4 separate regions of the Homo sapiens genome follow, and regions 1, 3 and 4 are each linked to region 2. The links are contacts of gene promoters, found by promoter capture Hi-C in human tissues and cell types (Jung and others, 2019). All regions are on one chromosome and are shown on one strand. Each heading gives the region's core, a stretch centred on a gene start or on the middle of the fragment in contact. The rest is flanking DNA. Distances are from core to core; before and after follow the strand shown. Region 1 has its middle 6.3 kb from the start of DMRTB1. Region 2 holds the start of LRP8 (LDL receptor related protein 8). Region 3 has its middle 26 kb from the start of DMRTB1. Region 4 overlaps CPT2 (carnitine palmitoyltransferase 2).

The links. Contacts are between HindIII fragments. The study calls those that stand out against the background at their distance.
Region 1: a contact is called between a fragment that was not itself captured here and the fragment with the promoter of LRP8 in region 2, in 5 of the 25 tissues and cell types used here (H1 embryonic stem cells, IMR-90 fibroblasts, mesendoderm cells and 2 more).
Region 3: a contact is called between a fragment that was not itself captured here and the fragment with the promoter of LRP8 in region 2, in 6 of the 25 tissues and cell types used here (H1 embryonic stem cells, IMR-90 fibroblasts, bladder and 3 more).
Region 4: a fragment that was not itself captured here is called in contact with the fragment with the promoter of LRP8 in region 2 in 2 of the 25 tissues and cell types used here (H1 embryonic stem cells and aorta).

The regions. Positions count from the first base shown.
Region 1 is chr1:53,451,752-53,454,492 of GRCh38, forward strand. No RefSeq gene overlaps it. Among named protein-coding and RNA genes, the nearest start is that of DMRTB1, 6.3 kb to the right of the region's middle. The HindIII fragment of the contact is 6,261 bases long and covers 1-2,741 here.
Region 2 is chr1:53,326,820-53,329,519 of GRCh38, forward strand. LRP8 (LDL receptor related protein 8) reads right to left here and starts at 1,251. Exons shown (of 19, transcript NM_004631.5): 1 at 970-1,251; 2 at 54-173. The coding sequence starts at 1,093. LRP8-DT (LRP8 divergent transcript) reads left to right here and starts at 1,414. Exons shown (of 3, transcript NR_131923.1): 1 at 1,414-1,556. RefSeq lists silencers at 1-232, 748-917, 968-1,117, 1,188-1,387 and enhancers at 298-407, 1,458-1,687. The HindIII fragment of the contact is 17,458 bases long and covers 1-2,700 here.
Region 3 is chr1:53,431,725-53,434,590 of GRCh38, forward strand. No RefSeq gene overlaps it. Among named protein-coding and RNA genes, the nearest start is that of DMRTB1, 26 kb to the right of the region's middle. The HindIII fragment of the contact is 3,885 bases long and covers 1-2,866 here.
Region 4 is chr1:53,213,695-53,216,509 of GRCh38, forward strand. CPT2 (carnitine palmitoyltransferase 2) reads left to right here. Exons shown (of 5, transcript NM_000098.3): 5 at 1-503. It overlaps CZIB (CXXC motif containing zinc binding protein), which reads right to left. Exons shown (of 8, transcript NM_017887.3): 7 at 2,297-2,362; 8 at 405-1,042. The coding sequence ends at 965. Among named protein-coding and RNA genes, the nearest start is that of CZIB-DT, 5.3 kb to the right of the region's middle. The HindIII fragment of the contact is 7,476 bases long and covers 1-2,815 here.

The DNA of each region.
Region 1 (2,741 bases), core at 152-2,651, 130 kb after region 2:
AAAGAGCAGAGATTCATGCGAGTGAAGGTTATCTAACCACCATGATGGAGGGGTGTATGAACGTGGTACACTCTACCTGAAGATGATGTAACACCTTGAACATAAGCTACTGTGGAAAACTTGGTCTTCAGAAGTAGAAGGACTGAGCACACAAATCTCTTGTGCACTGCTGCCCAATAGAAATATAATGAAAGATCATACATATAATTTAAGATTTTCTGGTAGCAACATTAAAAGAGTAAAAAGCCACATCAAAATATTATTTAATTCAATATATCCAAAATATTACTTCAATATATCCAAAATATTATTTCAATATATAATATATATAAAATTATTGAGATATTTTGCATTCTTTTCTTCATACTATGTCATTAAAATCTGGTGTGTATTTTATACTTTCAGAACATCTTAAATTTAACTGGGCACATTTTAAGTGCTCAATAGCCACAGTAAATAATAGGTATAGTATTGGACAGCTGGTGTTTAATGTATGCTTGGAGAGCCTGATGCCACTGTGTAGCTAAATCAAATCCTGTGATTGGAGGTGGCTTGGAGTCAGTCAGAAATACTACTTATCTCTCACCCCCCTTCCCTTTGTCCCTTCTTCCTCCTTGATACTATGTAATGCATGCTAACCATGTGCCAGATACCAGACCTGTGCTGGGCTATTCAAATGTATTATCTCATCAATCCTACAAGAGTCAGGCATCTCACCTTGTAGTTAAAGTAAAGGAAATAACTAAATGGTGGCAATATGGCATAGTACTTAGGAGTTCAGACTTGGAGGCTATTCACATGTGTTTCTGTCACTTCCTATGTACCTTGGGTAAGAATATTTCTGAACTTTAAGCTTCAATGTTATTTGTCAAATGGACACAATAAAATTACCTACCTTATACATGTTGTTCTGTGGTTTAAATGAGGCCATGTCTGCAAAGTTGTAAGCATTCATTAAATAACAATATCACTAAATGGGATATTGTGCCACACTTTGGGATTTGCAACACGTTTTACAAATATTACTATTGCAACTGAGGCTCAAAGAAGTTAAATAATTTAGCTAAGGTTAACACAGCTAATAACTAATGATCATGTTCTCACCCAGCTTGCCTGTCTTTATAGTATTACTTGCCATCTGTTTTCAGTTACAAAATGGACCGAACTTGTACTGACTCTCTGACATAAAATGTTTAGAAAGGTTACTCGAAAGATAAATTATTGATATCTGTTTGCCTTTCTCATAGAAGCATAACTCAGGAAAAAGATGCTGGTTTTTTGTTTTTCGATAAATAGTTACTGTTTTCTAAGAAATTAGACAAGGAACATACACAGAAAAAAGAAGATTCAATTTAATTTTCTTTTTCCTTTGCTCTTTTTGACTGCTTTTACCAGAGAACAGTACCTTGTATATGGTAGGCATTCAATTCATGCCTCTTGTGTTAAATTGAGTTTGCATTTTACCACAGGACAGAGATATTAAAGGTTATATTATTCCCTATTAGCAATGTAGTTTATAGGGACGTGTGCCTCTCGTATTTTCAGAAAAAAAAAATTGAAATTTATAGAAATTTGATAGTACTATCAAAAATACATGTAATCAGCTACATATACATATTATGAAAGTTTCTGTGGGCTGAGCACAGTGGCTCATGCCTATAATCCCAGCACTTTGGGAGGCCAAGGCGGGAGGATTACTTGAGCTGGGAGTTTGAGGGTGTAGTGAGCTATGCTCGCGCCACTGCACTCCAGCCTAGGTAATAGAGTGAGACCCTGCTGCAAAAAAAAAAAAAAAAAAAAAAAAAAAAGAAGAAGAAGGAAGGAAGGGAGGGAAGAAAGTTTCTGTGGGTGTCAAAAAATGTTTGTTCATCCAATTAGCAAGTAAAAACAAGACAGAACAAAGGTCAGTACTATTGGGTTGAAGAGTAGCACTTGGAGCATGCCCTCTCCGCCAGGATGGTGTACTTTTCCTTTGCTCCACAGAATTGCTTGTTCCAGTCTTAATCTTCACAGCCTCTCCAACAGCTTTGGTCTGTTTGACTGCCTCATGCTCTTCTTTTCTCTCACTCCTTTGTCTTCCATCCATTACTATTTTGTGCCTCGCTTCTCTAAGATTCCTAGGAGAGGTCAGATGAATCTGTTAATGGTGTCCCAGGGTTAGAAGGAGCAACCCTGTCTGGCCCAGTGCTAGTTTGGGCCATGGCTAGCCTCAAATGTGTGCCCCACCTGGAACAACCACCTCAAGGAAAACCCCACTCAACTCTATTTGAATCTTGCAATACCTGCACGAGTGCTTATTACTTACTGTTTTGCCTGGCTCTGCCGTGTGATTTCCTCTTCTCCTTGGTCAATTTCCCTCAAGGACTCCTTCCACAGCCTGGCTGCAACTTACTTTTCCACCTCATTTCTCGCCAGTGTCTCAACCTTGCTGCACTACAGCCACACTGTAGGCCACTGAGCATGTGGGACACACTTCTGCTTTTGTGGCTGGCTACTAACCCTTTAGGCATCAGCTTAGAAATCAGCCCCTCAGGGAAGTCTTTTTGATTTCTCAAGCCAGTTTAGGATTCCATATGGGTTCTGAAAACCTGACTTTTATTACTCTGGAATTACTTGTTCACCAAGTAATTGGATTGCCAGCTAGAATGTAGGCCTAAAGGCAAGGATCCTGTCTTTTTACTTAACTTCTGCATGCCTTATGCTTAGCACATGGTTGGCACTCAATAAATATTGACCATGGA
Region 2 (2,700 bases), core at 1-2,500:
CCCCACCGTTCCTTTTCTCTCCCCGGGTCTGAGCTCCCTGGCCCGCCACTCACGGCAGTCGTCCTCGTCGCTGTGGTCTAAGCAGTCATCGTCCTCGTCGCATCTCCACACAGAGGGGATGCAGCGCTCGTTCCGGCACTGGAATTGGTCCTTTTCGCAATCCTTGGCCGGCCCTGCGAGGGGGAGGGAGCGTGAGCTGGATCAGCGGACTCGGCCCCACTCCCCACCATGCAGTCCGGGCCACCCGGAAGGACCCGCTGGGGAGGAGGAAAGGGGGCGATTATGGAGACCCCGGGGGCTTCAGGCACACTCCATCCAAAGGGAGGGCACGATGGCAGGGGTTCCGTGGATGTCGGGCCGCTCGGTGGCACGGCGAGACCAGGCACCTACTTAAAGTGTCACACGACCTGGGTATACCCTCCATTCAGACGCACTCACCCGCACACGCGACCCATAGTCAGAGATCTGCTCAGATACAGCCCATAGGGAGTCCCCGCGCCCGCGCGCCAGGCGCAGTGGGAGCCGCAGGCACATCACCCTGGCAGGCAGCCCCCTCTCTCTCCGCCGCGCGCAGGGGTCTGCGGAAACGCATTGTCAAGCGGAGAAGCCGCCCGGCTCTGCTCATTACCGCCGCGGAGCGCGCGTGTCAAATAAACCCCAACGGCGAGAATCACACAGCTCATCCGGAACCATGAATGGCCGCCCCTCCGGCAAAGTTCCCCGCTGGCCAAGCCCCCCTGCACCCCTCCCCCAAGATCCGCTGCCCAGAGGGCAGAGCCCTCAACACCGAGGCCCGCGGGGGCGGGGGGCCGAGGGCAAATTCAGGAATAGCCGCTTCGCGTGGAGCCTGTCCGCCCGGGAGCCCCCGATAGCCCCGGGTTCTGGACCCCTCCCCGCTCCGGCCTCCCGGCCGCGCTTTGTTGGTGGCTAGGGCGGAGCAGAGCCGAGTCAGAGACCGGCTGCACGCACCTTGGCCGCCGAGCAGCGGATCAGCCGCTGCCGCCGCAAGATGCTGGAGCTGCAGCAGCAGCAGCAGCAGCAGCAGCAGCAGCAGCGCCAGAAGCCGGAGAGGGCCCGGCTCGGGGAGGCCCATGGCGGGCCCGGGGCTCCGGCCGCCGCGCCCCGCGCTCCCCGCGCCGCCGCCGCCGCGTCTCAGCCCTCCGAGTCCTTGCCGCGGCGCCGGGGTTGCCGCTGCCCCCGCCGCCGCCGCCGCCGCCGCTGCCGCCCGCCCCGGCTCCTCGGCTGCATTTCAAGCAGGTTCGGTGACGCTCGGCGGCGGGGCGGGCTCAGGCTGGGCGCGCGGCCCCGGCCCTGGGCGGCCGCCGCCAGCGCGCGCGCTCCCTCCCGCTGCCGCCTCCGCCCCACGCTCCCCCTGCCGCCGCCTCCTCGCCCTCCTCCCTCCTGTCTTTCGTCCACTCTTCTCTCAGCGGGCGCTCCACGGCCCTGCTCTGGGCTCGCCTGAGTGCTGGGCTCTGCAGACGCAGGGATGGGCCAGGCGAGCCCCTCACCACGGAGGTAGCAGGTCCAGAGGAAGCAGCAGAGGCTTCCTGGAGGAGGTGACAGGCGGATCAGAGGCTGAGGGATGTCTAGGAGTGAGCCTGGGCGGGAGGGGAAATGATGTTACAGGACGAACAGGCCTGTGCAGTGTGCGCGTGGGGCGGGGGAGGGAGGGATAGGGGTGAGATCCCAAGATGTGGATGAGCAGGGAGAAGCTGGGGGCGCAGGGCTGGACCCCTGCACCTGTCATGGGCTCCGGCTGGGATATTATAAATCCCTGTGGCTGGTTTGGTTTCCGTGCCATGTGCATCTGTGCATGTTGCACGCTCATGTGATCATGGGGACGTGAGGCAGGTGGATTGGGCCTGGTGCACAGACTATTCATCGTCGTTAAGTACGCTCCAGGCCCCTAGTCAGAGGGGCAACCAGGGGGGGCCCGCAGGGAAGACAAGGAATCCTCGCTGTGATGGAGAAAGACGAGGTCTGTGGGGCGGGCCGGGCGGGGGGGAAGGGGAGGGCACGGAAGGGATGCCATCCCTGCCGCTAGGGGCCGCGCACCTAGGCCCGCGCTGTCCGCCCCTGCTGTCTTCTGCAGGAAGGAGAAGGCACCTCTTCCTCTGGAGGGCTGCAGCCCGCCTCACCCACACTGGGGAGAATGGGTGCGGAGAGCGAGCTGGGATTCGATTTCAGCCTCAGACTTGTGAGCCGGGTCCAACCCACACAACCTTCTTTAGAGAATGAGATTCCAGGGCATTGGCCACTCAAAACAACCGGCCTGCAGGTGCCAAGAGCCAGTGTTAGGTCCACCCTCCCTCCCCTCTTGCCCCTTCACCTCCCTCGCGGATGGGCAGGTGCTGTTAGCCCTTGGCCTGGAAACCACCCTGTCTCCTCAGCAGCCTCCTGAGCCGTAGTCCCCCAAAGGGCAGCCCAGCGGCAATATCTGTGGCCACCCCACCAGAAAGGGACTTAGATCCCCAGAGAGCCCGGCACGGTGCTCCTGCCATCATCACCCCTCCTGTCCCTTGTTCATTCAGTCATTCAGCAAGCATTTCAGGCCCTGTTCTGTGCCAACCCTGTGCTGGGCCTGCGGGTACCAAGGTGAATCAGGCATGGTGCCAGCCCCGGAGAGGTCCCTGACCTGTGGGGAGACAGACCATTAGCACACAGACAACGAAATGCAGGCGTCCTTTCACCTATATGTGC
Region 3 (2,866 bases), core at 330-2,829, 110 kb after region 2:
ATTGAATGGCTGCCTATCAAAATGTGATCTGACTTCGGTAATTATTTTTGCCTTCCAAAGGCTCAAAAGACTTTCTAAAGACATACTTGTGCAGCAAGGAAAAGAACTCATAACCTTAACGCTTTGATTCCTTCTCATCTTTATCATGTGGTATTAACATGTAAATATGACCTTTGCTTTTCAAGATTTTACCTACTTCCTTTATTCACTTCTCAAAGGACAGATCAATGGATGAGATTACAGCTATCATGAAATTAATTTCATATACTTGAGAAAGCTACTTTAATCACCACCTGGAGGAAAAGATAAATAGCCTGATACCACTTCCTTAGCTGTAGGAACTAAGATTAGAGGAAAAAATTGTGATAAAGCCTCTCGTTGAAGCTGCAATACCACACACACACACACACACACACACACAAGCAAAAGTGCTGCATTTATGATCAGTCCCTTCAAGTTAGAACTGAGGCACTGACCTGGTGAGCAAATGACTTAAATATTAAATTAAATATTGACTATTTTGCAGTTTATTTCTAGACAATTTTGCCATAGGTTTTCCACAATTGAGACACACTGCAAACTCCTCATTGGTACAAAATGAGGAAAGCTTTACAGTACATATAAATAGAATTTTTTTTTTTGAGATGGGGGATCCTCCCACGTCAGCCACCTCAGCCTTCTGAGTAACTGGGACTACAGCCGTGCACCACGATGCCTGGCTAATTTTTTTTTTTTTTTTTTTTTTTTTTGGTAGAGACAGGGTTTTGCCATGTTGCCCAAGATGGTCTCAAACTCCTGGGCTCCAGTGATCTATCTGCCTCAGGCTTGCAAAGTGCAGGGATTACAAGCCGGCACCACTGCACCCAGCCTGAAATTTTTTTAAGAAATAATTTCAAGGTACTATAAAAAACAATTTAAGAAAATGATAGTCATTGGTTCTATCAAGGTGCTGAGCTGGAGTAATGAAGAACATGTGGACTTTGATTCAGACTATATCACTCATTAGCTACATGACTTTGAGCAAGTTATCTAGCATCTGAGTCTTAGTTTTATAGAGAAACAAGAATTGTGATTGTCAAGCGTGTCCATGTGAAGAGAGTCCACAACAGGCTTTGTGTGAACAATAAAGCTTTTTAATCACCAGGGTGCAGGCGGGCTGACTCCTTTTTCAGACTCAGCCCACCTGCACCAGGTGATTAAAAAGCTTTATTGCTCACACAAATCCTGTTGGTGGACTCTCTTCACACGGATGCACTTGACATTTTGTGCTGAAGACCCAGGACAGGAGGACTCCTTCGAGAGACCAGTCCCCCATCCTTGCCCTCACTCGGTGAGGAGATCTACCTATGACCTCAGGTCCTCAGACCAACCAGCCCAAGGAACATCTCACCAATTTCAGATCGGGTAAGCGGTCGTTTCACTCCCTTCTCCAACCTCTCTCACTATCCCTCCACCCTTCAATCTCTCCCTTCCTTAATTTTGGTTCCTTTTCCCCTTTCTGGTAGAGACAGAGGAGATGCATTTTATCTGTGAACTCAAAACTCCAGCGCTGGTCACAGACTCGGGAAGACAGTCTTCCCTTGGTGTTTAATCACTGCGGGGACGCCTGCCTGATTATTCACCCACATTTCAGAGGTGTCTGATCACCATGGGGATGCCTGCCTTGATCCTTCACCTTGGTGGCAAGTACCACCCCCCGCCCTCTGTGTCTCTACCCTCTCTTTTCTCTAAACTTACCCTTTTACTATGGGCAACCTTCTGCCCTCCATTCCTCCTTCTTCTCCCTTGGCCTTTGTTCTAAAAAACTTAAAACCTCTTCAACTCCCACCTGATCTAAAACCTAAGCGTCTTATTTTCTTCTGCAACACTGCTTGGCCCCAATACAAACTTGGTAATGGCTCCACATAGTCAGAAAATGGCACTTTCGATTTTCTCCATCCTACAAGATCTAGATAATTTTTTTCAAAAAATGGGCAAATGGTCTGAGGTGCCTGATATCCAGGCATTCTTTTATACATTGGTCCCTCCCTAGTCTCTGCTCCCAATGTGACTGTCCCAAATCTTTCTTGTTTTTCTCCCGTCTGTTCCTTCAGTCTCCACCCCAAGCTCTGAGTCCTTTGAATCTTCCTTTTCTACAGACCCACCTAACCTCTCCCCTCCACCCCAGGCTGCTCCTCGCCAGGCCGAGCCAGGTCCCAATTCTTCCTCAGCCTCCACTCCCCCACCCTGTAATCCTTCTATCACCTCCCCTCCTCATACCCAGTCTGGCTTACAATTTTGTTCCACAACTTGCCCTCCCCCACCTGCCCAACAATTTCCTCTTAGAGAAGTGGCTGGAGCTGAAGGCATAGTCAAGGTTAATGCTCCTTTTTCTTTAGCCAACCTCTCCCAAATCAGTTAGCGTTTAGGCTCTTTTTCATCAAGTATAAAAACCCAGCCCAGTTCATGGCCCATTTGGCAACAACCCTTAGACGCTTTACTGCCCTAGACACAGAGGGGCCAGAAGGCCGTCTTATTCTCAATATGCATTTTATTACCCAATCCACTCCTGACATTAGAAAAAGCTCCAAAAATTAAGATTCTGGCCCTCAAACCCCACAACAGGACTTAATTAACCTCGCCTTCAAGGTGTACAATAATAGAGGCAGCCAAGTGGCCACGTATTTCTGAGTTGCAATTCCTTGCCTCCACTGTAAGACAAACCCCAGCCACATTTCCAGCACACAAGAACTTCAAAAACCTAAACCATAGCAGCCAGGCATTCCTCCAGGACCTCCTCCCCCAGGATCTTGCTTCAAGTGCCAGAAATCTGGCCACTGGGCCAAGGAATGCCCGCAGCCCAGGATTCCTCCTAAGATGTGTCCCA
Region 4 (2,815 bases), core at 287-2,786, 110 kb before region 2:
GAGGCGGGTGGATCACTTGAGGTCAGGAGTTTGAGACCAACCTGGCCAACATGGTGAAACCTTGTCTCTACTAAAAATACAAAAATTAGCTGGGTGTGGTGGCATGTGCCTATAATCCCAGCTACTTGGGAGGTTGAAGCAGAATTGCTTGAACCCAGGAGGTGGAGGTTGCAGTGAGCTGAGATCACACCACTGCACTCCGGCCTGGGCGACAGAGCGAGACTGTCTCAAAAAAACAAAAAAGAAAAAAAAACTGGGGCCTGTGTAGCCAGTGGGTGCTATTCTGTGAAACTAATCATAAGCTGCCTAGGCAGCCAGCTACAGGCTTGAGCTTTAAATTCATGGTTTTAAAGCTAAACGTAATTTCCACTTGGGACTAGATCACAACTGAAGATAACAAGAGATTTAAGTTTTAAGGGCATTTAATCAGGAGGAAAGGTTTGGAAAACTAACTCAGGTGTATTTATTGTTTAAGCAGAAATAAAGTTTAATTTTTGCTTGAAGATGGTTCTTAATTTCTTTTAACCTAATTCCTAATCCTCACAAAGATCTTTCCAACAGCAAGTTCAGTAAGTTCAGGTAACAGTACGTCACCATTGGCTTCTGGCTCATTGAGTGATGGTGGGATCGCGGTTTCATCTCTGTAAACTTGCCCTTGACTGGGGAGATACCATCTCCTTAAAAATACTCTTCATTTTCCTAAGGAGTGAACTGCTGCTGCACGAATTCTTATTTGTGGAGGGAGTAGCTGCCTCCTTACTTCACCTTCATGCACCAGTGCAGCGTGAACAGGGGCTTTATTGATGGGGCTTGGGAAGCTGTAATAAAGTCCAGCATGCAGATTGTGAAGGTTTCGTATAGCCACCAGGAGACAAGGGTCAAAGGAACGAGCCTCTGTGGGCTCTGCTGCTTAGAGTACTTTGTCCTTTCTCAGTTCTTAAGGGCAACTGGGAAGGAAGAGGGATCAGCACTTCACAAACTGGTGGGTGACCTCATAGATTCCCACAGACTCCTGGGCCTTTTCATCATAGTCAGTCCAGTCCTGGGAAACAAAATGGCATTGTTAGCCTCACAACGCAGAATGCAGCCATGTGGAGAGCAGAAAACTGGGACTTAAAAGGCCCAGCTCAGGCTCTGACTCAAATAATCATGAACATGTATGACCCTGAACAGAGCCAGATAGCTCAGGCCTGAATTCTAGCTCTTTCAGTTGTATGACTGTGGGCAAATCACTTAACTTCTCTGAGTCCCTTCTCCGAGTCCTGTCTTCTATTTAAAAAAAACAAAAACAAAAAAAGGACAATGGAGTTCATATTGAATGTTGAAAGAATCAAATGAGGTAACACATTTAAAAGCACTCAGCAGCCGGGCGTGGTGGCTCATGCCTGTAATCCCAGCACTTTGGGAGGCCAAGGCAGGTGGATCATTTCAGGTCAGGGGTCCGAGACCATCCTGGCCAACAAGGTGAAACCCGGTCTCTACTAAAAATACAAAAAATAGCCAGGAATGGTGGCAGGCGCCTGTAATCCCAGCTACTTGGGAGGCTGAGGTAGGAGGATCACTTGAGCCCAGGAGGCAGAGGTTGCAGTGAGCTGACATTGCACCACTGCACTCCAGCCTGGGCGACAGAGTGAGATTGTCTCAAAAAATACATAAAATAAAATAAAAGCACTCAGCATAGTGAGTGCCTGGCACATGTAAGAGCTCAGTAGATGCTAGCTGCTGTTATTAGGTGCTGAGCAAATGAAATGAAGTTTTTGTCCTTCCTTCAAGGCTTGAGCACAAGGCTTTTCTATCTGCAGGGTAGTAATATGTCCAGTAATACAGACTATTTCTTGTTCTTCATGGTAGTTAGGTGCAGTAAAGCCACCACAAACACTGAATTAGGGAATACTGAATGAATACTCCCCGGGGAAATACAGGGTTAGGTTCCTATGAGCCTCTGGTCACATTTTCATCAACCAATCAATAATCTAGCTTTATGTGTTTCTGTTTAAAGATAACTTATTTAATATATATTGTTGATTCATGAACTCACAGCCAGCAGCACTATAGCTCATGCCTGAATAAAGCTTATCTAACACGTATTCTCTCTGTAAGGGGCATCATAGCTTTCTCATACGTAGGAACATTAGAAAGCACTTTAGCACTATACCTGTGGCCATTTCAACAGCAAAATCACTAACAAAAAGCACAAAAATACAGAGTTGGCTTTCCATTGATGAGCCTTGTCCACCAAAAAAATAATTCCCACCAGGTGCCCTACAGTACCTCCCAAAGCCCCCAAGTCTCATACCTTCTCCTGCAGATTAATGTCACTGAAGGCTGTCCCTGACTCCACACCTTCAGCAGCAAACCCAGCCTGCAGGGCACAAGAAGGTACCAGTTAGTCTTGGCAAAAGAAGGCATTGGGCTATAAGTAAGGGCCGGCCAGGCTGCTGGCTCTTCTCACACTTCTGGGATGGAGGACAGAGATGCAGTATGAGTACCTGTCTTGGAATAACTGCTGAGCTTCCAGGACCCGGCAGCTGCCTCAGAACTAGAGTGGTGGTTTCTCTGAATTACAGCCTTGGACCAGAAGGCAGCAGGGGCAGCGTAATCCCTTCCACTAGCCCTGGTTTGCTGAAGGCTCCTGGGCATGTCATTTCCCAGGTTGGACCTTAGTTATTGATAAAACGGGGATGAAGTATTTGCTCTTCTGCCTACCTCACAGATTTGTTGTGAGGTGAAACATGCACAAATAAAGGGGGATGAGCACCAGCTCAAGTCAGATAGATCTGGGTTGAAACTATAGCTCCACTGCTTACTGTGTGAC